Linked DNA regions of Homo sapiens: regions 2, 3, 4, 5, 6 and 7 are each linked to region 1. Evidence: promoter capture Hi-C in human tissues and cell types (Jung and others, 2019). All regions are on one chromosome and are shown on one strand. Each heading gives the region's core, a stretch centred on a gene start or on the middle of the fragment in contact. The rest is flanking DNA. Distances are from core to core; before and after follow the strand shown.

What was found. The method cuts DNA at HindIII sites, captures the fragments that hold promoters and counts their contacts. A contact is called where the count stands out against the background at its distance.
Region 2: a contact is called between a fragment that was not itself captured here and the fragment with the promoter of PPP1R3B in region 1, in 2 of the 25 tissues and cell types used here (dorsolateral prefrontal cortex and mesendoderm cells).
Region 3: a contact is called between a fragment that was not itself captured here and the fragment with the promoter of PPP1R3B in region 1, in 1 of the 25 tissues and cell types used here (hippocampus).
Region 4: a fragment that was not itself captured here is called in contact with the fragment with the promoter of PPP1R3B in region 1 in 1 of the 25 tissues and cell types used here (lymphoblastoid cells).
Region 5: a fragment that was not itself captured here is called in contact with the fragment with the promoter of PPP1R3B in region 1 in 1 of the 25 tissues and cell types used here (lymphoblastoid cells).
Region 6: a contact is called between a fragment that was not itself captured here and the fragment with the promoter of PPP1R3B in region 1, in 1 of the 25 tissues and cell types used here (lymphoblastoid cells).
Region 7: a fragment that was not itself captured here is called in contact with the fragment with the promoter of PPP1R3B in region 1 in 1 of the 25 tissues and cell types used here (spleen).

What each region holds. Positions count from the first base shown.
Region 1 is chr8:9,148,745-9,152,107 of GRCh38, reverse strand. It overlaps PPP1R3B (protein phosphatase 1 regulatory subunit 3B), which reads left to right and starts at 1,450. Exons shown (of 2, transcript NM_024607.4): 1 at 1,450-1,545. It overlaps PPP1R3B-DT (PPP1R3B divergent transcript), which reads right to left and starts at 383. Exons shown (of 5, transcript NR_183348.1): 1 at 192-383. RefSeq lists silencers at 446-695, 1,196-1,465 and enhancers at 816-1,055, 1,102-2,050. The HindIII fragment of the contact is 27,491 bases long and covers 1-3,363 here.
Region 2 is chr8:9,733,317-9,736,421 of GRCh38, reverse strand. TNKS (tankyrase) reads right to left here. Exons shown (of 27, transcript NM_003747.3): 15 at 2,978-3,105; 16 at 1,338-1,557; 17 at 936-1,045. Among named protein-coding and RNA genes, the nearest start is that of MIR597, 6.8 kb to the left of the region's middle. The HindIII fragment of the contact is 3,848 bases long and covers 1-3,105 here.
Region 3 is chr8:9,845,377-9,848,566 of GRCh38, reverse strand. No RefSeq gene overlaps it. Among named protein-coding and RNA genes, the nearest start is that of MIR124-1HG, 56 kb to the left of the region's middle. The HindIII fragment of the contact is 4,314 bases long and covers 1-3,190 here.
Region 4 is chr8:9,782,576-9,785,690 of GRCh38, reverse strand. No RefSeq gene overlaps it. Among named protein-coding and RNA genes, the nearest start is that of MIR597, 42 kb to the right of the region's middle. The HindIII fragment of the contact is 4,527 bases long and covers 1-3,115 here.
Region 5 is chr8:8,221,962-8,225,206 of GRCh38, reverse strand. The region is part of intron 1 of FAM85B (family with sequence similarity 85 member B); the gene reads left to right. Among named protein-coding and RNA genes, the nearest start is that of FAM85B, 3.9 kb to the left of the region's middle. The HindIII fragment of the contact is 8,646 bases long and covers 1-3,245 here.
Region 6 is chr8:9,670,990-9,674,040 of GRCh38, reverse strand. All of the region lies in intron 3 of TNKS (tankyrase), which reads right to left. Among named protein-coding and RNA genes, the nearest start is that of MIR597, 69 kb to the left of the region's middle. The HindIII fragment of the contact is 3,399 bases long and covers 1-3,051 here.
Region 7 is chr8:8,246,177-8,249,209 of GRCh38, reverse strand. No RefSeq gene overlaps it. Among named protein-coding and RNA genes, the nearest start is that of FAM85B, 20 kb to the right of the region's middle. The HindIII fragment of the contact is 4,944 bases long and covers 1-3,033 here.

The sequences.
Region 1 (3,363 bases), core at 201-2,700:
ATCAAGTTACATGTAAACTGAAGAAAGGAAGAGCCTCTGATTCAAACTCTTTAAGGTCATCATTTTTTTCTTTTTCTAAGACCATTTTCTATAGATCTCAAGGTGCATAATATGCATCGCGGAGGCCCTGTAGATTTAGATAGCGATTATAACCGATTCAAGTCAGGAAATTTCTTCTGAAGTATACCTACCTGTGAAACCCTCCATATCTGGGGCGCTCTGTGCCACGGGTGTCAGACTTTTGCAAAAGCCCTGTCATTCTAACGGGACGCCCTCCTGTAGGAAGTTGCCCCCTGGCGCCCGTCCTCCGGCTTCTGATGAAACGGCGACCCACCACCCCCTTCCCAGACCCTGGCCCGCAGCCGGATCACTCCGGGCGCGCTGCCGATCACGTGGCGAAGCGGTGCTCCCCAGCGCCGTGGCTGCGCGCCCATTGGTCGGCGGCTGGAGTCCCGGGCGCGCCCATTGGCTGCGGGGGGCGTTCACGTGGCAGGGGGCCTGGGATGGACCCCGGGGTCCCGAGAGCTGGCAGGAAAGTTAAAGGGGGCAGCGCGGCCGCGGGGAGCTCGAGTCCCGGGTGACTGCTGGAGGGAGGAGGTGACCGCGCAGCTCTCGTGCACGGACGGACTTCGCCGCCCGCGGGGGGCGCGAACCCGAGCCCGGGCCCAGCTCCTGCCGTCACGGCAGCTGTCCCTGTTCCCCCAGGGCGTATGCTGCCGCGGGCTGGCGCGTCTGCCCTCGGGACTTATGAGCTGAACCCGGTACGTAGCTCCCCAAGTCTCGAGTCCGAGGGAAGGGCTGGGGACAACAAGGCGAGGGCGTGCAGCGGGGACCTCTTTGGGTTCCTGTCACCTACATTTTCACCGTGCGACTTGCACTGGCACACCGGGGCTGGAACACTCTAGGTAGCTGGCCCCAGGGAGCTGTTGCTTCAGCGTGGAGAGGGCGATCCAGGGACCGCAGCTGGGAAGCGCCTCCCGGGCCCACGTGCTCCACCGCGCTGCTGGGCCCGGCTGCGACCGTGACCCGGGAGCTGCGGCTGCGGCGGCTGATCCCTTTACCACCTGTTGTTCTGGCTTCGAAACTAGCACAAGTTCCCAGCCCCGGGTCCCGAGAGGTCTGGAGACTTCTCCAAAGTTGGGTAGTGGGGTTTGGAGCTTAAGGACAAGCCGCTTCGTCTCTCTCCGGGCCTTATTTTCCCTATAAAACGCGAGGAAATACACTTGGTAGGCTCTCAGGCCACCGAGGGCGACGGGACCTAGCACGATCCCCGTCCCGGGCTGGCGGAGGCCAGGCGGCCGCGCGGGGGTGCTGGTGTCGCGCTGCTTGCTCCGGCCGGGGTTGCCCCTTTGCCGGCCCCGCCCGGGTGCGATAACGGGCTCCTCCTCCTCGTCGTCTTCCTCCCACCGCCGACATCTCCGGGAACCCAGCCCAGGCCCTGCCTCCCGGACACACCGACGCTCACGTAGTCGCGCTTGCCACAACCCTGCGGGCTCTCCGATGCGGCGAGCGAGCTGGGGAGGGGGCTTCTCCGCGGCCCAAAAGGTGGGTGCGGCGCGAGGCCAAGGAGGCTTGTAGGGAGGTTGGGGGCGGAGTGCAGCCCTGGTCAAACTGGACGGAGGGGACAGAGTCGGAGAGTAACTTGTGGGATCCTCCAGCCTGGAGAGCACTGGCCTGCTCCTGCGTCTCTTTGGAATCCAGAAAAAGGGGTGTGGAAGGCACAGTAGCTGCAAAAGAGGGAGTGGGGGCCGGTAATGACTTACTGGAAGATTTGGGGCCTGTCAGAGCACTGTTTTCTGAAAAAGAGGAGAAAACAGAGGAAAGACTGGACTTGGGAACTTGGAGACTTGGAAGGTGTTGGAACCTGTGGTCTGAGTGGCGGGGGCCTGCCTGGGAGACCCAGGGTGCAGCAGAAGAGACAATTAGAGCTTTGGTCTGGGAGGAAGAGGAGGAGAGGAGGAAATGTTTCCTTGGGCAGAGTTGTCCAGGAGCCAAAACTAAAGTGAAGACAGCTGGAGGACTTACACAAAAGTACAGTTGAGGTATTTAGGAAAAAAAGTTAGTGGGAAGAGAAGCGGCACCAGGGGTGGGTCGCAACATACAATGTCAGGGCCAGCAGGGACCTTGGAGGGGACCTCAAGCCCAGAGCAGCTGAGTGACTCGCTCAAGTAGCAAAGCAAGGTGCGGGCATTCTTAGCCTAGTACTCTGTTTTCCCTCGTACGTTTTTAGACGGCAGGGGCTGTGTCATTTGAACTTGCCTCTTTCCTAGAATATGCAACTGTATTCACAAATGTCAGTCTCCAAGATGCTTTGGATGATGGGGACAGGATCAAGGGGTACAAGGAGCCTTTAAGGCTGTGAATAGGCCCCCATGGTCTGAGTACAAAGGGGAAAGACATGCACTCTCTTCATGCTGGATCAGTGAAACCTTTTGGAAGGGAACACAGAATTGTTGGAGGGAGGTAGATGGCCATGTCTTTAAAAATGAAAATTATAACCTGGTTGTGAATGTTTACTGAATGCAGTTCGGCAGCTTTCAGTGTTCCTGGTGGGTTGCTTGTGCATCTGATTTTTTTGTTTGTTTGGTTTTGTTTGTTTGTTTTGAGACGGAGTGTCGCTCTGTCGCCCAGGCTGGAGTGCAGTGGCGCCATCTCTGGCTCATTGTAAGCTCCGCCTCCCGGGTTCACGCCATTCTCCTGCCTCGGCCTCCTGAGTAGCTGGGACTACAGGCGCCCGCCACCACGCCCAGCTAATTTTTATTTGTATTTTTAGTAGAGACGGGGTTTCACCGTGTTAGCCAGGATGGTGTCGATCTCCTGACCTCGTGATCTGCCCGCCTCGGCCTCCCAAAGTGCTGGGATTACAGGCGTGAGCCACCACGCCCGGCCTTTTTTTGCCTTTTTTTTTTTTTTTTGAGACGTAGTTTCGCTCTGTCGCCCAGGCTGGACTGCAGTGGCGCCATCTCGGCTCACTGCAAGCTCCGCCTCCCGGGTTCGCGCCATTCTCCTGCCTCGGCCTCCTGAGTAGCTGGGACTACAGGCGCCCGCCGCCACGCCCGGCTAATTTTTTTTTTTTGTATTTTTAGTAGAGACGGGGTTTCACCGTGTTCGCCAGGATGGTCTCGATCTCCTGATCTCGTGATCCGCCCGCCTCGGCCTCCCAAAGTGCTGGGATTACAGGCGTGAGCCACCACGCCCGGCCTTTTTGTCTTTTCTTACCAGAAGAAAGAGAGAGAGAGAATAAGAGAATGGAGGGGATAATGTCGTGGCCCTGATACAAAAAAGATTTCCTCCCTATGAAAGGTACAGCCAGAAAGTCAGTAGTTCAGCTGCCTGAAACCGTGAAGGTCATAGGGTTATTTT
Region 2 (3,105 bases), core at 227-2,726, 580 kb before region 1:
AATTCCTACTCTCTGAAACCATATATATCAACTGCTCAACCATTTAATTTTTTTTTTTTTTTTTTTTTTTTAGATGAGGTCTCACTATGTTGATCAGGGTGGCCTTGAACTCCTGGGCTCAAGCGATCTTCCCACCTCAGCCTCCCGAATGGCTGGGATTACAGGCGCATGCCACTGTGCCTGCTACTCGAATATTTTTAAGGTGCTGATGATAAATGTAAGCCAACATACTTTCCATGCCTGTATAACAGCTGCACAGCTTTTCTAGTTTTTAAAATATACTTGAGGTAGAATTAAGAAATTGGTATTTATTATATTATTTTACATTATATATATTATATTACAATATTGATAAATATAAACTGAGCACCCATTACATGCCTATTATTGTGCTTGATAACGTGCTGAGACCAAAAAGCAATAAAAAGCATGACTGTTGGCCAAAAGGTAGTTAAGCTTAGCCGGGAAGATACACCAAAACTCTGAACAAAAGATTAAAATTATGCTAAATCATGCTATTAGTTAGATATCTACTTACTTAATGCATAGTATGCATTTAATAAAGTCGTAAATGCCAGGGAAGTTTTCTAGATTTTATTTTATTTATTTATTTATTTATTTTGAGTCAGAGTCTCGCTCTGTCACCCAGGCTGGAGTGCAGTGGCGCGATCTGGGCTCACTGCAAGCTCCGCCTCCCGGGTTCATGCCATTCTCCTGCCTCAGCCTCCCGAGTAGCTGGGACTACAGGTGCCCGCCACTATGCCCGTCTAATTTTTTGTATTTTTAGTAGAGACGGGGTTTCACCGTGTTAGCCAGGATTGTCTCGACCTCCTGACCTCGTGATCTACCTTCCTCGGCCTCCTAAAGTGCTGGGATTACAGGCGTGAGCCACCGCGTGCGGTCAGTTTTCTAGATTTTAATGTTAGTATGCTTACCCCATAAGATGCCGCATTATGAAGAGGAATTAAACCACCCTTGTCCTGGGCATTAACATCAGCTCCATGCTCTAGAAGATATTCAGCTACTTCCAGGTTATTATAGCCTGCTATTTAGAGTAAAAAAAATACAGGAAACGTGTCAGCTTAAAGGAAAAAAAATACATACATATGTAATAAGGACCAGAAAATGTTAAGGTTTTAATACTTTTTGCTTCAAAAGCTAATACTGTTATCACATAATGGAGGGACTTCACAATAAGAAATTATACAAAACTATGTCAATCAAGAGCATTTTACTAAGTAGTCCCATTTGTGTTCAGCATGGCTTTCGTCTTTTAGTAAACTGTATTAGGTGTCCGAGAAAGGAAAAGGAGGCTTGGAGGCACTGGGGGCGCTTACCTGCCAGGTGCAGAGGGGTTGAATTTCTGCCCTGGGTGTCTCTGCAGTTGATATTCTCTGGGGTACAGAGCTTCTGCACTCTTGCCAGGCAGCCCTTCTTGGCAGCATCCAACAAAGCAGCATCCCCTCTCAGTAAGTCCTGAATATCTGTGTCTCCTTCCTTTACCAAATCCAAAGGTGTATTTCCATCTCTGTTCTTTTTAGTTGGATCTGCTCCATGCTACAAAGAAGAAAAACCAAATGGGGTTTGTATTTTCTGTAGTAAGTAGGTAGGTAGGTAGGTAGGTAATTAATTTACTCTACCTTTGTTCCTCTGGGGAAGATATCTACTCTATATGCATTTTGAAAAACACTTTGCAAAATTCCTACTTAGTAATATAATGGATCAGCTTTCTAACTATTAATACTATACAGTCAAAGCTTCAGGATCAATGGTGATGATAAAGTAGGGAGAGTGTTAAGTATCTTTGAGACAACCTATATAATACACTTTTTCTCAGACTCCAAGTTGTCTTTGGAAACCTATTTTACTTTGAAGAATAGCATGGATGTTAATTTTGACCAGATTCAATTACATAAAGATACTCAGTAGGTATGAAAAAGAAGAGAGTAGAGTAAGACACACTGGTAAAAAAGGACTTAATTCTAAAGGCCATCAGTAAGAATAAAGTTTGGTAATATTTTTAAGATTTTTATCCTAAGTCTTAACATCTATCATGAAATTAGATATAAATGTATTAAAAATTATAGATTTTAAAAGTTTAATTACCAATAGCTATTAAATAAAGTAAATAGAAGTCAATAATTTTTATTATGGGTCGGCCACAGACTGTCATGGGCTCACTGCGGAAATTAGTTGTAAGTCAAGGTGGACAATGGATTCACAATGACTTGGAAGTTATTTCTTACCAACCAGTGATAATAAAAATGAGTATCAGATATTGTGTTTTTCTCAAGATTCATAAGAATGTATTTGATATCATAAAAGTGAAGGGAGAAGAATTTTATTTAAACACTTCAATTTTTTTTCCGTAGTTAAAAAAAAGCAAAAGAAAATCTCATAAATACACATCTGGTCGTTTTTTAAAAATATACTTTAAGTGAGCATAAATTATAGTTAGTTTCATATAACTACTAGTTTTCACTCTTTTACATGTATCTAAAATCTATATGAACAACTTTAGAGATCATCTTATGTTTTAATAAAAATCTGATACTACAATAAGTTCTTAAAGACACAATATTTGATGTTTACTAGTGAATGAGTTAGTTAACAATAATAAAATAGCCAACAAAGAAAAAAAACCCAACTTGATTGAAAAGCTTGTTTCTCCTGTACAGTTTTTTCTGATATTAATACTATAAGTACTAGACAAGCAATGCAAACTATTTCAGCTCTTTCTAAAACCTACTTTGATGAATTTTTATGACATGGACTTAAACCATTTCAGATATTCACTTTAGGCACTACGCAAAGCTATGTGTCATATCACATAAACGGTCTTCTGGGAAATAGAAAATGAGAGCAGTCTCTACAGCAGTATTGTTCTTAATAGAATAACATACCCCAACTTACTTTCAAGTAATAACCAAAATATAAATAAAATTAGTTATATTTCATAACTTTTTAAACTACATACTTTTAAAAGGAGCTTGCAGATTTCATACTTTCCTTTAGCTGCTGCTTCATGGAGAGGGGTAAATTTCCATAAGTCCGCCACATTGACAGAAGCCCCATGCCTTACTAAAAGCTCAGCCACCTCATAGT
Region 3 (3,190 bases), core at 273-2,772, 700 kb before region 1:
GAGTTTTGCTCTGTTGCCCAGGCTGGAGTGCAGTGGCATGATCTCAGCTCAGTTCAACCTCTGCCTCCCAGGTTCAAGTGATTCTCCTGCCTCAGCCTCCCGAGTAGCTGCTACTAGAGGTGTGTGCTACCACGCCTGGCTAATTTTTTTTTTTTTTAGTAGAGACGGGATTTTGCCATGTTGGCCAGGCTGATCTCTAACTCCTGAGCTCAGGCAATCCACTCGCTTCACACTCCCAAAGTGCTAGTGAGAGGTGACAGCGTGCTGGCAGTCGTCACAGCCCTCGCTTGCTCTCGGCGCCTCCTCTGCCTGGGCTTCCACTTTGGCAGCACTTGAGGAGCACTTCAGCCCACCGCTGCACTGTGGGAGCCCCTTTCTGGGCTGGCCAAGGCCGGAGCCGCCTCCCTCAGCTTGCGGGGAGGTGTGGAGGGAGAGGCGCGGGCGGGAACCTGGGCTGCGCAAGGTGTTTGCGGGCCAGTGCGAGTTCCGGGTGGGCGTGGGCTGGGCAGTCCCCGCACTTGGAGCCACCGGCCGGCCGCGCTGGCCCCGGGCAGTGAGGGGCTTAGCACCTGGGCCAGCAGCTGCTGTGCTCAATTTTTCGCAGGGCCTTAGCTGCCTTCCTGCAGGGCAGGGCTCGGGACGTGCAGCCTGCCATGCCTGAGCCTCCCCCACCCTCGTGGGCTCCTGCTTGGCCCAAGCCTCCCCGACGAGCGCCGCTCCCTGCTCCGTGGCACCCAGTCCCATCGACCACCCAAGCGCTGAGGAGTGCAGGCGCAGGGCGCGGGACTGGCAGGCAGCTCCATCTGCGGCCCTGGTGCGGGATCCACTGGGTGAAGCCAGCTGGGCTCCTGAGTCTGGTGGGGACGTGGAGAACCTTTAGGTCTAGCTCAGGGATTGTAAATACACCAATCAGCACCCTGTGTCTAGCTCAGGGTTTGTGAATGCACCAATCTACACTCTGTATCTAGTTACTCTGGTGGGGACTTGGAGAACCTTTGTGTGGACACTCTGTATCTAGCTAATCTAGTGGGGAGGTGGAGAACCTTTGTGTCTAGCTCAGGGATTATAAACGCACCAATCAGCGCCCTGTCAAAACAGATCACTCCGCTCTCTGTAAAATGGACCAATCAGCAGGATGTGGGTAGGGCCAGATAAGAGAATAAAAGCAGGCTGCCCGAGCCAGCAGTGGCAACCCGCTTGGGTCCCCTTCCACAATGTGGAAGCTTTGTTCTTTGGCTCTTTGCAATAAATCTTGCTGCTGCTCACTCTTTGGGTCCACACTGCCTTTATGAGCTGTAACACTCACCGAGAAGGTCTGCAGCTTCACTCCTGAAGCCAGCGAGACCATGAACCCACCGGGAGGAAAGAACAACTCCAGATGCACTGCCTTAAGAGCTATAACACTCATCACGAGGGTCCGCGGCTTCATTCTTGAAGTCAGTGAGACCAAGAACCCACCAATTCCGGGCACACTAGGATTACAAATGTGAGCCACTGTACCCAGTCAACACTTGTTACTATCTGTTTTTTTTAATTAGTTTTTTGTTGTTTTTATAATAGCCATTCTAGTGGTGTGAATTGGTATATCCCACTAGATACCAATAGTTTCGACTTTCTTTTCTCTGATGGCCAATAATGTTGACCATCTTTACATGTGCTTATTCATCGTTTGTGTTTCTTCTTTGGAGAAATGTCAGATCCTTTGGCCACTTTTTAATTGGGTTATTACCTTTTTATTATTGAGTTGTAAAAGTTCTTTATACTAGATACAAATTTCTTATCAGACATGATTTGCAAAAATTTTCTCCCATGCTGTAGAGTGTCTTTTCACTCTCTTGGTCGTGTCCTTTGAGGCACAAAAATTTAAACTTCTGGTGATGTCCAGTTTATCTATATTTTTCTTTTATTGCTTATGCTTTTGGTGTCATGTCTAAGAAACCATTGCCTAATCTAAGGACATGCAAGTTTATACCTGTGTTTTCTTCTGAGAGTTTTATAGTTTTAGCTCTTTAATTTAGGTTTTTAATCAATCTTTTAGTTAATTTTTGCATATGGTGTGAGATATGCATCCAGCTTTATTCCATGTAAATTTCTATTTGCATGTGGATATTCATTTGCATGTGGATAATCCATGTGACCCAATACCACTGGTTGAAATGATAGTTCTTTCTCCCACTGAATTGTCTTGGCACTCTAGTAAAAAAATCAATTAACTGTATACATGCCAGGACCTATTTCTGGAATTTCAGTTCTATTCCGTTGATCTATGTGTCTATTCTTACACCCGTTCCACACTGTCTTGATTTTCATATTTTTGTAGTTCTTTGAAATTAAGAAATGTGAACCTGGTCTTTTTTCTCAAAATTGTTTTGTCTATTCTGAGTCCCTTGCATTTCCATATGAATTTTTGGATCAGCTTGTCAATTTCTGTAAAGAAGGCAGCTGGGATTTTGATAGTGATTGCATTAAACATCCATATCAATTTGGGGAGTATTGCCACTTTAACAATATTACATCTTTCCATTCATGAATATAGGATGTCTTTCCATTTATTTAGCTCTTCTTTCACATTTTTCAATAATGTTTTGTAATTTTCATTTTATAAGTTTTGCGCTTCTTTTGTTAATTTATTCCTGAGCATTTGATATGGTTTGGATCTGTATGCCTACCCAAATCTCATGTTGAATTGTAATTCCCAGTGTTGGAGGTGGGGTCTGGTTAGGAGGTGATTGTATTAAAGGGGTAGTTTTCTCATAAATGGTTTAGCACCATCACCTTAGTGCTGTTCTCGTGATAGTGAGTCCTTGGGAGATCTAGTCGTTTAAAAGTGTGTAGCACCTCCCACCTCACTCGTTCTTGTTTCTACTCTGACCATGAGATGCCTCACTCCCCCTTTGCCTTCCGCCATGATTGAAAGTTTCCTGAGGCCTCTCTAGAAGCTGATGCTGCCATGCTTCCTGTACATCCAGTAGAACTATGAGCCAATTAAACCTCTTCGTTTTGAATTACCCAGTCTCAGGTATTTCTTCATAGCAGTTGGGAATGGACAAATATAGTATTTTATTCTTTTTGGTGCTGTTCTAAATAAAACTACTCTCTTAATTTCATTTTTAGTTTGCTCATTGCTACTGTACAAAAATACAATTGATTCCATCAGGACTTGGTGAAATGAAAAAGATAGGAAACCATA
Region 4 (3,115 bases), core at 188-2,687, 630 kb before region 1:
GTTTCACCATGTTAGCCAGGATGGTCTCTATCTCCTGACCTTGTGATCTGCCTGCCTTGGCCTCCCAAAGTGCTGGGATTACAGGCGTGAGCCACCGCGCCTGGCCGGCAGATTCTTTAAGGGGTCTGAGTCAGTCATGGATATGCTTTCTTCTAATCTCCCATTCTAGCCAATCAAGTACTTTTTCTTAGGGGACAGAATGGAAAGACAGTTTTCAGATTAAAAAAAAAAAAAAAGAACATACTATGCAAGTTAACTCATTTAATTCTCAAAGCAACTCTATGAAATAGTAGTAGTAGTAGTAGTAGTAGTAGTAGTAGTAGTAGTAGTAGTAGTAGTATACTCATTTTTAATGATGAGGAAAGTGAGGCCCAAGAAGAATAAGGAACTTCTCAAGGTCACATGGCTAGTAAGTGGTAAAACCAAGCTATGAACTTGGGCCTTCTGATTGCAGGGCTGGAGGTTTTAATCCTACAGCCTTTCAGCTAACTAGTTATGAAATTGACCCAACAGCCCCATACACAGTTGTTTTTGGATAAACATAGAAATGGACCCTTCTTCTCTTAAAGCTTAAAACTTATATTTGTTTTATCTTAGTTCTTTCCTCAGGAAAGGAACCCTCAGGCCTCTCAAAACGTATCATAGAACTGAAACTCACCAGATCAGCACATCCAGACAGTGAGATGCCCAACACCTCAATCATCATGATTGCTTCCTTGCCTCTCCCTCGTTCCTGTTTTTTTACGCATTACTTCCCTGCTATATAAACCCCTAGTTTTAGTTAGGGAGATGGATTTGAGACTGAACTCCCATCTCCTTGACTACAGCACCCTATTAAAGCCTTCTTCCTTGGCAATACTCATCATCTCAGTCATTGGCTTTCTGTGCGGCAAGCAGCAGGGCCTAGATCAAAACCCAGGTGTTTTGGTAACAGTCACCCTAACAGACTAGACACCTAAAATTCTCATTGTTCTACTTCCATCTTCTCCTCAGACCCCAAAAGCGTTCGATTTGTATCACCTTGTACATCTTTTAAGTAGTCCTAAATTAAATAACTGTATGGCAGCCAGCATCGTCTGGATGTGCTGCTGGTGAGTATTCCTACTTGACAGATGAAAGGTAGAGACATGGCCTTCATAGAATTGCCTTGGAGTTATGAAGCAATTCTGTACTGTAGGGCAAGCACTGGTTTCCTGACTTCAGCCTCTACATACTCCCAATGACTCATAACCACGGTTACCTTATACTTTTACTTTGTGTTACATACCACTGATTTGCAGGCAGAGTTATGAAAGTACAGGTGAATAGACTTATTTTATAAATGGGTCCTTGGGCGGGAACAGTATGCCAAGAATCATATTAACAAAATTAACATCTTTCATATTGTCCGATGCAAAGTTGTTTTATTAGCACTGTATGGTAGATGGTAGTTGGTAGAAATGAAGACGTACACACCATCCCCTTTTCCACTGTTTTTTATATATCCAAGTGTTCAGAGCTAATGCAAACCAGAAGACCTGACACTTACGTTCCAACTTAATGGGAATGGATGACCCAACTTTCATTATTTCCAGTATAGTGTCAGGTGCTCTTTCAGCTTGGAGGTCTATTGTACAGTCTTATACGATAATGAAGAAAAGTGAACCTAGCCAAATGATAAAGGTTGACAGGTGCTATAAATAGGACACGCTACCTCTAATGTGAGAAACTAGGTCACAGCATCCAGACACTCAATGTAGACAACGTAATCCAAAAATACTTCTTCAAAACTGGCTACCAAGAAGCACCCATCCCTTTGATTAATAGGATCTAGTTTTCCAGCAAGTAATTTCCTTCAGAAAATAAACCCAATCCAGCAAGTGATTTACAGCTGCTCCATCCCACTTCCCCCAATCCCCAACCCACAGTGGTTGATGCTACAAAAACAGGCCCTTGGAATACATCCATGTCATAAACTAACCCAGGCTTTTGAAATTTTAAGTTACTGTTTTATATTCCACTTGCTTTTTGTGCACAATTCAGATTTCTATTTCTATAACCCTTTCTATAACCCCTTATTCACTAAGTTGTCCCCTCTATAATTTCCTTTTCTATAACCAAAAGGGAACACCTGAGTCTAATGGCATTTAGAATCTGATTGTTGTGTGAGATACTGACATAAAATCATGTGGTAGAGTCAAGTCTGTGTTTTTATTCCTGCTTAAACACTGAAACTCCATCTGTGATTGGTGATTGGTACATAGCAAATGGTACTTAATTTTTTTTTTTTTTGAGATGGAGTCTCACTCTCTTGCCCAGGCTGGAGTGCAGTGGTGCGATCTCGGCTCACTGCAAGCTCTGCCTCCCGGGTTCACACCATTCTCCTGCCTCAGCCTCCCGAGTAGCTGGGACTACAGGCGCCCACCACCACACCCGGCTAATTTTTTGTATTTTTTGTAGAGACGGGGTTTCACCGTGTTAGCCAGGATGGTCTCGATCTCCTGACCTCGTGATCCGCCTGCCTTGGCCTCCCAAAGTGCTGGGATTATAGGCGTGAGCCACTGCGCCTGGCCTTCTGGTACTTAGTCTTATAGTGGAAGGTATTCTGGGATATAACATAACTAATTTAACCACTTCCAGTTTCAGTTCCTCATCTGTGAAACAGAATTAAAAGGCCAGTTTTGCAAAGTTTTTGGGGTTACTAATGAAAATGTATGTATACAAAGTACTTGGTTCACGTAGGGGCTCAATGATGGCTATTGTTATTTGCAGGGTTACTAGAATACTTCCATTTAATTATGTCTGTTTGTTGCTCTGACAAGCCCTCTGGCAAAAAAGTTACTGTACAGATAAAATTCTAGGTTCAAATTTGCTATGTAACGGACCCCTAGGCATGGAGAAAGAAGAGGGGAAGAATGGAAGGATTTTCTTAGTCCTCTGCGCCAGGCACTGTGCTAAGTATTTAATACTGACTGTTGCATGAAGCAGGCGTTCTTCCCCTCCGTCTCCCCCGAGAGGTGGAGAAGGTGAGTCTGTGAGCAATCATGTTGTGCAAGGCCCCTGGGCTGCCTTTGGACCTGGTAGGAGGTCTGGCTCTAAAGTGTCAGCCTGTTTGTTTAAGAGATATTTCTGAAAG
Region 5 (3,245 bases), core at 586-3,085, 930 kb after region 1:
TGGTTGCCTTTTAGAAGTTAAGCTATGGGCATGGAAGTTCAATCAGTACTTTGAAGTTTTTCCTTTATCTCTCCTATGGTTAATGGTTTCTGCAGAAAAGGACCAATTGATTTCTTTCTAAAATGTTGCTTCAGGGTGTAGAGTCCTTTATAGGTCATGTGTCAACTTACAGAAAATTTTTATAGTTCAAATATAAATTACGTTCAATGTAGACTTTGTAATAGAATTTAAGGTTAAGTAAAGTTTCCACTTTCCTTAGGCTGTTTGCAGTGCCCAGCAGGCCCCATCATATCGAGGTGGAAGTTCTGTTAAAGGAGGAGATTGATCAGGGATGGGCAGAATAAGGAATATGCGCAGCTCAGGCTAATGATACAATGATTGAGATGTAGAAAGAGGGTCAGGCACGGGATAACGCCTGTAATCCCAGTGCTTTGGGAGGCCAAGGCAAGAGGATCGCTTGAGGTCAGACCAGCCTGGTCAACAGAGTGAGACCTAACCTGTACAAAAAAAAAAAAACAACACAAAAAAAACAAAAAAATTAGTTGGGCATGATGGTGTGCACCTGTAGTCTCAGACACTTGGAAGGCTGAGGTCAGGGGATCCCTTGAGCCCAGGAGTTTGAGGCTGCAGTGAGCTATAATCACATAACTGTACTCCAGCCTGGGTGACAGGGTGAGGCCCTGACTCAAAAAAAAATTGAGTCAGGGAAAAAATTTGAAATCTTAATCCTCAGTACCCAGGAATGTGACCTTATTTGGAAATGTGGTCTTTCTAAATGTAATCAAGTAACGATGAGTCATCCTGGATTGGGGGCTGCTGGTGAGGGGGCAGATGCAGTGACTGGTGTCCTTATAAAAGAAGAGAATGAGGGCTGGGGATGGTGGCTCATGCCTGTAATCTCAGCACACTTTGGGAGGGTGAGGTGGGGGGATCACTTGAAGTCAGGAGTTCGAGACCAGCCTGGCCAATAATAACAATAAAAAAGCCATTTTAGGTTCCAATCCACTGAAAGAAAACTGTCCCTTAGTTAATGTCATGTTTATTGGATCCATGAAGTCTTTGAAAATTTAAACTACATGGACACTGCTGTCTGTGGTGGTGGAGAGAATACCAAGGATTTAAAGGTCTTTAAGAAAGAGAATGTAGAAATCGTACCCATTGGAAACAGCAAGATGATGAAAATCGTACTGACAGTAATAATAAGCTCAAATATATAGAGCTTACTATGTATCATGAATTGCTCTGAATGCTTCATAAATATACGTTCCCTCCTTTACCCTCATGGCAGCCCAGTAAAGTCGCCATTCCCCATTTTACAGCTGGGGAAACTGAGTTACAGAGCTTTTCTGCACTGAGTCATCAGGAGCAAATGCTAGATCAGGTAATTGAACCCAAGCAATCTGGTTCCAGAGCCAAATAGATGTATTTTTTATGGTATAAAACATATACATACATTTTTAGGGGAAGGGTGGGGTAGGATGGGATGAGGATTCTGGGTAATTGCTTGGTAAATGCCAAATACCTTTCTTGTCTGTCCCTCTTTTCAAATGATAAAGTAATGTCAATTGCAGCACTTTTTTTTTTTTTTTTGAGACAAGGTCTAGCTGGAGTACAGTGATGCAGTCATAGCCCACTGCAGCCTCAAATTCCTGGGCTCAAGCGATCCACCCACATCAGCTTCCCAAGTAGTTGGGACTACAGGCCCACACTACTATGCCCAGCTAATTATTTTAATTTTTGTAGAGATGGCAGGTGGCTGTGTGGGGGTGTCTCTCTATGTTGCCCGGGCTGGTCTCGAACTCTTGACCTCAAGTGAACCTCCTGCCTCAGCCCCACAAAGCTCTGGAGTTATAGGTGTGAGCCACTGTGGCTGGCTACAATACTATTTATTTATATTTTGGACCAACAGATATTCTAGCATATAAGAAATGTGATGCTCTCTGTACACTGAAGAGTTGGTCTAATATTTGTCCTGGTGGATACAGAAATTGCCTGTCTGCTCCGCTCTGGGTGAAGAAACAAGTCCGACTGTCTCTGAGGCTATGGAGCAGTCCATCAAGAATGAAAGCCCTCTGCCAGGCACGTTGCCTCACACCTGTAATACCAGCACTTTGGGAGGCCGAGGCAGGTGGATCACTTGAAGTCAGGAGTTCGACACCAGCATGGCCAACATGGTGAAACCTTGTTTCTACAAAAAATAGAAAAATTAGCTGGGCCGGGTGATACATGTCTGTAATCCCAGCTACTCAGGAGTCTGAGGCAGGAGAATCACTTGAACTTGGGAGGCAGAGGTTGCAGTGGGGAGCTGAGATCACACCACTGCATTCCGGCCTGGGCGACAGAGCGAGACTCTCTCAAGAAAAAAAAAAAAAGAATGAATATCCTCATGATGGCCTCAAGCACATTGGTCCCTGAAGAGAGTCAAGGAAGGCCCACTTTACTCTGCACTGCAAAGCAGGCAGGTGGACAGGAATCTGATAAGTGGATTCCGTGAGAGGCATTGACCCAAAGGATTTTCTCCCTAATGGTCAGTTCAGCAGAATATTAAACTCAGCACAGCATCCTGTTCCCTGAAACCATCTGTTTTGTCAGTGGGGAATGTTCTTGTCTCGTTAAATGTCCTCATGCTACTGTCAAGATATCCTGTTACAAAATGTCATAAACCAGGTTTACAAATAGGCCAGGTGATTGTGGAATTTCTCCTTGGCAAGGCCTTAGCTACGGGCGTGCGATTGGGGTGCAATAATCACTGTGTTCCGGGCCACTTGAGGGATAAAATATACCTTAGGTGATAAACTGTTGTATTTTAATGTGAATATTTCCACCAACATTAGACAGTAACCTCATGAGTTTTCTGTTACACTGTGGAGTTGCAACAAGCTAACAAGCAAGTTGCAAACATAATGATCGCATTTGGCTCCTATTCACAGCAAGGGTTCTTCAAGCTGTACCTGGGACAGTCTTCCCTCACATGAGGTTTATAGCATCACTTATTTCATTATTTATTTATTTTTTGAGACAGTGTTTTGCTCTGTCGCCCAGGCTGGAGAGCAATGGCGCGATCTTGGCTCACTGCAACCTCCGCCCCCCCGGGGTTCAAGCGATTCTCCTGTCTCAGCCTCCCGAGTAGCTGGGATTATAGGCACCCGGCACCACACCTGGCTAATTTTTGTATTTTTAGTAGAGACGGGGTTTCACCATGTTGACCGGGCTGGTCTCAAACTCCTGACTTCAGGTGATCCACC
Region 6 (3,051 bases), core at 378-2,877, 520 kb before region 1:
TAAGCAGTTAAACAATTTTACCCAACCTGTACTATCTACTTGGTTAACAATTCTAAACTTTTGGTAATGTTTTAACTAGAAGGTAAATAAAAACCAGCTCTTTCAAAAGAAAGTTACTTTTTCAATAATTCTAATCTTTATAGACTTGTTACAACATTTTTTTAAAAGAAAAAAAGCTCACCAAAGTATGGAACTAGAGACAAACTACGAAGTTATTATTTGAGAAGCTTTCCAATTCTTTAGGAAAACGGAAATGAACCCCCCGACCCCTGCATAGCAGCTGTGAAAAAAAATTCCAGGCCGGGTGCGGTGGCTCACACCTGTAATCCCAGCGCCTTGGAGGCCCAGAAGGGTGGATCACGAGGTCAGGAGTTCAATACCAGCCTGGTCAAGATGGTGAAACCTCCTCTCTACTAAAAACACAAAAAAATTAGCTGGGCGTGGTGGCACGTGCCTGTAATCCCATCTATTCGGGAGGCTGAGACAGAGAATTTCTTAAACCTGGGAGGCAGAGGTTGCAGTGAGCTGAGATCGCACCACTGCACTCCAGCCTGGGCAACAGAGCAAGACTCCTGCTCAAAAAAAAAAAAAAAAAAAATCCAAAAGGTAAAAGGCCCCAAATACAACTCTATTATCCTATATTAAAATTTTTATGTCATAATTTTATGTCATAAAATTTATATATTATTTTCATGTCTTAAAAATTGTAATATATTAAATGTCAACACAAAAACCTCAATCAATGTCCTAAAACATTTCAAAAACACAATATAACACTCATATAATAAAAGCTTTGTAAAAGCTTTATGCAGGAGGCAGTAATATGACCTCTCTTAGTACGAGTAACATCTAAGATACACATCCCATTTCCTGACACTTAGCAGGGTTTCCAATCATTTGTACTTGTTTCTGATGTGGTGTCAATTGTAGCCATCAATAGGTGTCTCAATAAATACACATCGGCCAAAAAAAGAGGGTATTATCAAATACATACATTCTTTAAATTGGATATTAAAAGGTAAAAGAGGTGTTCCTCTAGAAGCTGTTAACCAGTGGGACTTTCTGCAAAGTGTGCCGGTACTTTAAAAGAAAACAGCCTTTGTGACCACAGTACACATGAAAGAACTTTTTGATATATTAAAAAGAAAACAAAAAAGGAGGAAAGGAAGACGGAAGGAGGGAGGGAACTCTCTAAGCATGGCAGGTTATGATGCTATGTGTTCAGTCTGGGAGCTCAGGACAACCACTATTATTTAAGCCATCAACTATCTGTGTTAATGGCAGCTAGGGGCTGGGGGAAGTGGGATATTAGTTTGTTTTTTTTTTTTTGTGTGTGTGTGTGTGTGTGTGTGTGTGTGTATGTGTTTTTTTTTTTTTTTTTTTTTTACCATCACAGTGTCTGCTGCATAAAAAGTGATTTAAATCAGGAAAAGTAAATTCCCTATTTGATCCAAAACAACTTGGCAATAGTTTTTACATTTTGTTCTATATCACAGGTCCTTTTTCTACAGCCATCAATTCACACTCCCTTGTTTGCAAATCTGAAACCCAAAAAGCTCTAAAAACTCAGATGGCAGCAAAACTTGACCCATTTAGTGTACACAGCTACACAGCACAGCTGTCATATATTTCACTACAAAAATATCACTGTTACATAGTACAGCCCCAGTCTCCACGGGGGGTGTTTTGTAATATATGGTAGATGTACAGTAGCCCCCATTATTCACAGGGGATACATTCCAAGGTCCCCCATTATGTAAGTGGATGCCTAAAACTGCGGACGGTACCTACCCTATATATGTTTTTTCCAATAATACATACCCCTTATAAATTTTAATTTATAAACTAGGCATAGTAAGAGATTAAGAATAATCTCTAATAAAACAGAACAATTGGAACAATATGCCAATATCACTACTCTTGTGCTTCTGGGTCACTATGAGGTAAAGTAAGGATTACTTGCACACAAGTGCTGCAATAGCAGGACGCTGATCTGATCACTGAGATGGCTACGAAGTGCCTAACGGGCAGAGAGTGTAGACAGCATGGATCTATGGACAAAGGGAAGGTTCACGCCCTGGGCAGAATACAGCAGGTCTGTGTGAGATTTCATCACCATACTCAGAGCATCATGCCATATAAAACTTATAAATTGTTTATTTCAGGAATTTTCCACTTAATATTTTGAGAGGCAGTTGACCACAGGTCACTGAAACCTTGAAAAGTGAAACTGTGGATAAGGGGTGACTACTATTAAACTGTGTCTTTTCTTATTCATTTTTCGAAGTATAATTTACATATAGTTAAATTCACCTTTTCAGATGGTTCTGTGGGTTTTGAAAAACTTATACAGCTGTGTGAACACTACACTTCAAGACAGGAAACATTTCTATCACACCAAAAAGTCAGGCCCCTCTGAAATCAATCGCCTACTCCAATCCCCCTCCCTCCATGGTAACCATGGATATGATTTCTGTCCCCAGTTTTATTTTACGGAATGCCATGTAAATGGAATCACAGAATATATAAACTTCTGATTCTAGTATCTTTTACTTAGTATAAATGCTTTTAAGTTTCGTCCATGTTGTTGGACATATCGGTACTTTGATCCTTCTTATTGTTAAGTTATATTCCATTATATGGATGTATCTCAATTTGTTTATCCAATCACCAGCTGCCAGACATTTGGGTTGTTACCAAATGTCTTTGGGTGATTATGAAGAAAGCTACTGGCAACATTTACAGAGAGTATTTTTGTATGGACAAATAACTTCATTTTTCTTGGGTAAATATCTAGCAGTGGGGTTGCTGGGTTATATCATAAGTATCTGTTTAACCTTGTTAAGAAATAGCCAAACCATGTCTTTTTTGAAATCTGAAAAATTCTCATGTCACCTATAGAAAAGAAAAGAAAAAAAAGAGAAAAAGTTAACTACTGAGAACTATGATGGCACTGCCACAATTTCACCACTGCAGATACCAACCTTGCCTCATATAGGGGCAATTCATCTGGCCTGAACTAATTTGCACATCTTTTAACTCTTTCCTTCT
Region 7 (3,033 bases), core at 480-2,979, 900 kb after region 1:
AGGTTAAGGAATTTATTGTAAGGATACCATCATTTCTCTCTCTCTCTCTTTCTTTGTCTTTCATTTTTTTTTCACCTCAAGGATACTGTGGTTTTAATGGAACTTAAGGCAGAATGAAATAGCTAGACCTTAAGACTGTCTCATGGTAAAAATGCAGATGTTACATATGTAGTCTCTGAGGATCACAGGTAATTCCTATAGAAGGAGAAATTAGTGTGACCTGGCCAGACACCCCCAGAAATGTTTATGGTGTGACCTAATGAGTGTACAAGATTTTATTCCATTTGTAGAGATCAAGTTCGCGTGAGTCATTTACAATAGAACACTTCACAGACTCCAGAGCACATTCACATAAAACCATTTTCAATTTTTTAAAAAATGTAGTCATTATTTCACCTTATTTTTTTAAAAAATTTTTTACCATGCAAGTGAAATATGCATGAGACTGACAAGAAATAATTTTTTTTTTTTTTTTTTTTTTTTAGACAGAGTCTCACCCTGTCACCCAGGCTGGAGTGCAGTGGCGTGTTCTCGGCTCACTGCAACCTCCACCTCCCAGGTTCAAGTGATTCTCCTGCCTCAGCCTCCCTGTGAGTAGCTGGGACTACAGGCGCACACTACCATGCCCGGCTAATTCTTCTATTTTTAGTAGAGATGGGGTTTCACCATATTGGCCAGGCTGGTCTCAAACTCCTGACCTCAGGTGATCCGCCCACCTCGGCCTCCCACACTGCTGGGATTACAGGCATAAGCCACCGTGCCCAGCCAATAATTTATTTTTAAACAAAATTGTGCCAGAAATTACCTTGACCTTTGAAGTGATCATCTTAAAAGCATCTTTATTCTAATGAAGTTGTCATTTTTGGCATTTTTTTGTACACGCACTCTGTGTCCCTACGAGGGAGGTAATAAATACTTCACTCCTACAAAACATGACATATATTATATTTTATCTTATTACAGATGAGAGAATTCAGGCTTAGAAAAGTAAAGTGACTCAGCTAAGATTTCCTATCTAGTAAATATTTGTAAGAATATTAATTCATGGTTCAGGCTCCAAAGATATTATTAAAAAGTGTTCTACTTCTAATAATAAAAAAAATAGTTCCTAAAAAACACAATGACCATATCTAAGCTGGTATTTTTTGTCCATATGAGAGAAAAGGCTTTAAAACATAGATCTGCCCTGGCCAGGCCTTTCATCTTGCAGATGTCGCAGTACCCTCTAGTGGCACAATGAAGACACAGACCTCGAGAGAAATTTTTTTCATTTGAAAACTGAGCCCTTCATTTTTAAGGGTAACAGGGGTTAATGTGGGACTTCCAATTAAAAATAAAATGACCAGATATGTTTAACATCTTTATTTCAAAAACTCCACTAAAATGGAGATAGCAAAATTAAAATATTATTAATCCACAGAGGCAAAGAGAACTGGAGATGATCCCATAAGGCAGTGGGCCCCAACTTTTTTGGCACCAGGAACCAGTTTCATGGAAGACAATTTTTCCACTTACCAGGGTGGGGGAGGAGAAGATGGTTTCAGGATGATTCTAGCACTTTACACTTATTGTGAACTTTATTTCTATTATTATTACATTGCAATATATAATGAAATAATTACACAACTCTCCCACTGTAGAATCAACTGGGAGCCCTGAACTTGTTTTCTTGCAACTAGACGGTCCCATCTGGGGATATTGCGAGACAGTGACACCCGAAGTGTGCCGCTTATGTCCAGTCTACATAATCTCATTTTGGTCGCTATCACTGCAAAAAATCCTGCTTCACAAAGACAGGGTGTTGGAAATGGAACCAGGCTTTTCAGTGCTTTTGTGGCAATTTCAAGATATTCGGCCTTGACTTTAATCCGGAACGTATGGAGATTTGAAATTGTCTCAAACGCCCTTTGTGTGTGTGTGTGTGTGTGTGTGTGTGTGTGTGTGTGTGTGTGTGTGTGATGGGGTCTTGCTCTTGTTGCCCAGGCTGGAGTGCAATGGCGTGATCTCGGCTCACTGCAAGCTCCGCCTCCCGGGTTCAAGTGATTCTCCTGCCTCAGCCTCCCGAGTAGCTGGGACTACAGGCATGCACTACCATGCCCAGCAAATTTTTTGTATTTTTAGTAGAGACAGGGTTTCACTATGTTGGACAGGCTGGTCTTGAACTCCTGACCTTGTGATCCGCCCACCTCGGCCTCCCAGCATGTTAAACATACTTTTAAGGGCACCAAATACAACTGTGCAACTGAAGCACATCAACTCACTTTCCACTATAAAGCCTGCCACCAGATGCAGGTTGTCACTTCCCACTCACTGATAGGGTTTTGATACGAGTTTGCAAGCAGTTGATTTATTTGGTCTCTGTGCTGTAAATCCTCTCTGCTAATGTTAATCTGTATTTACAGCCACTCCCCAGCGCTAGCATCACAGCCTCGGCTCCACCTCAGATCACAGGCATTAGATTCTCATAAGAAGCTTGCAACCTAGATCCCTCACGTGTGTAATTTACAATAGAGTTTGTGCTCCTATGCGAATCTAATGCTGCTGCTGATCTGACGGGAGGTAGTGTTCAGGCAGTAATGTGAGCAATGAAGAGCGGCTGTAACTACAGATGAAGTTTCACTTGCTCACCGGCTGCTCACCTCCTACTGGACCACCTGGATCCTAACAGGCCACTGACTAGTACCAGTCCATCGCCCAGGGGCAGGGGACCCCAGCCATCGGTGACAAAAGACTTCAATAAAATCCTTAGAAGACAGGAAGAGGACAGATGGGGGTGACTGACCTAACAGGACAGAAGAAGTTAAGGCCAGTGGCCTGTATGAGGCACAGCTGATGAAACTGGTTTGTCTTGCTCTGAAGATCACCTACAGGGTTCAAAGCTTGAAGCCACTATATTCTGTGAGCAGACAGATGAGGCAATGGGCTGCAAACTGAGTGGATTCAAATTCCGTTCACCCAGCTACTCACATGGGAGTCAGGAGGTTCACACTCAGGACAGTTTCAGTCCCAAGGCTCTGAGCTCAGGGATAGCAG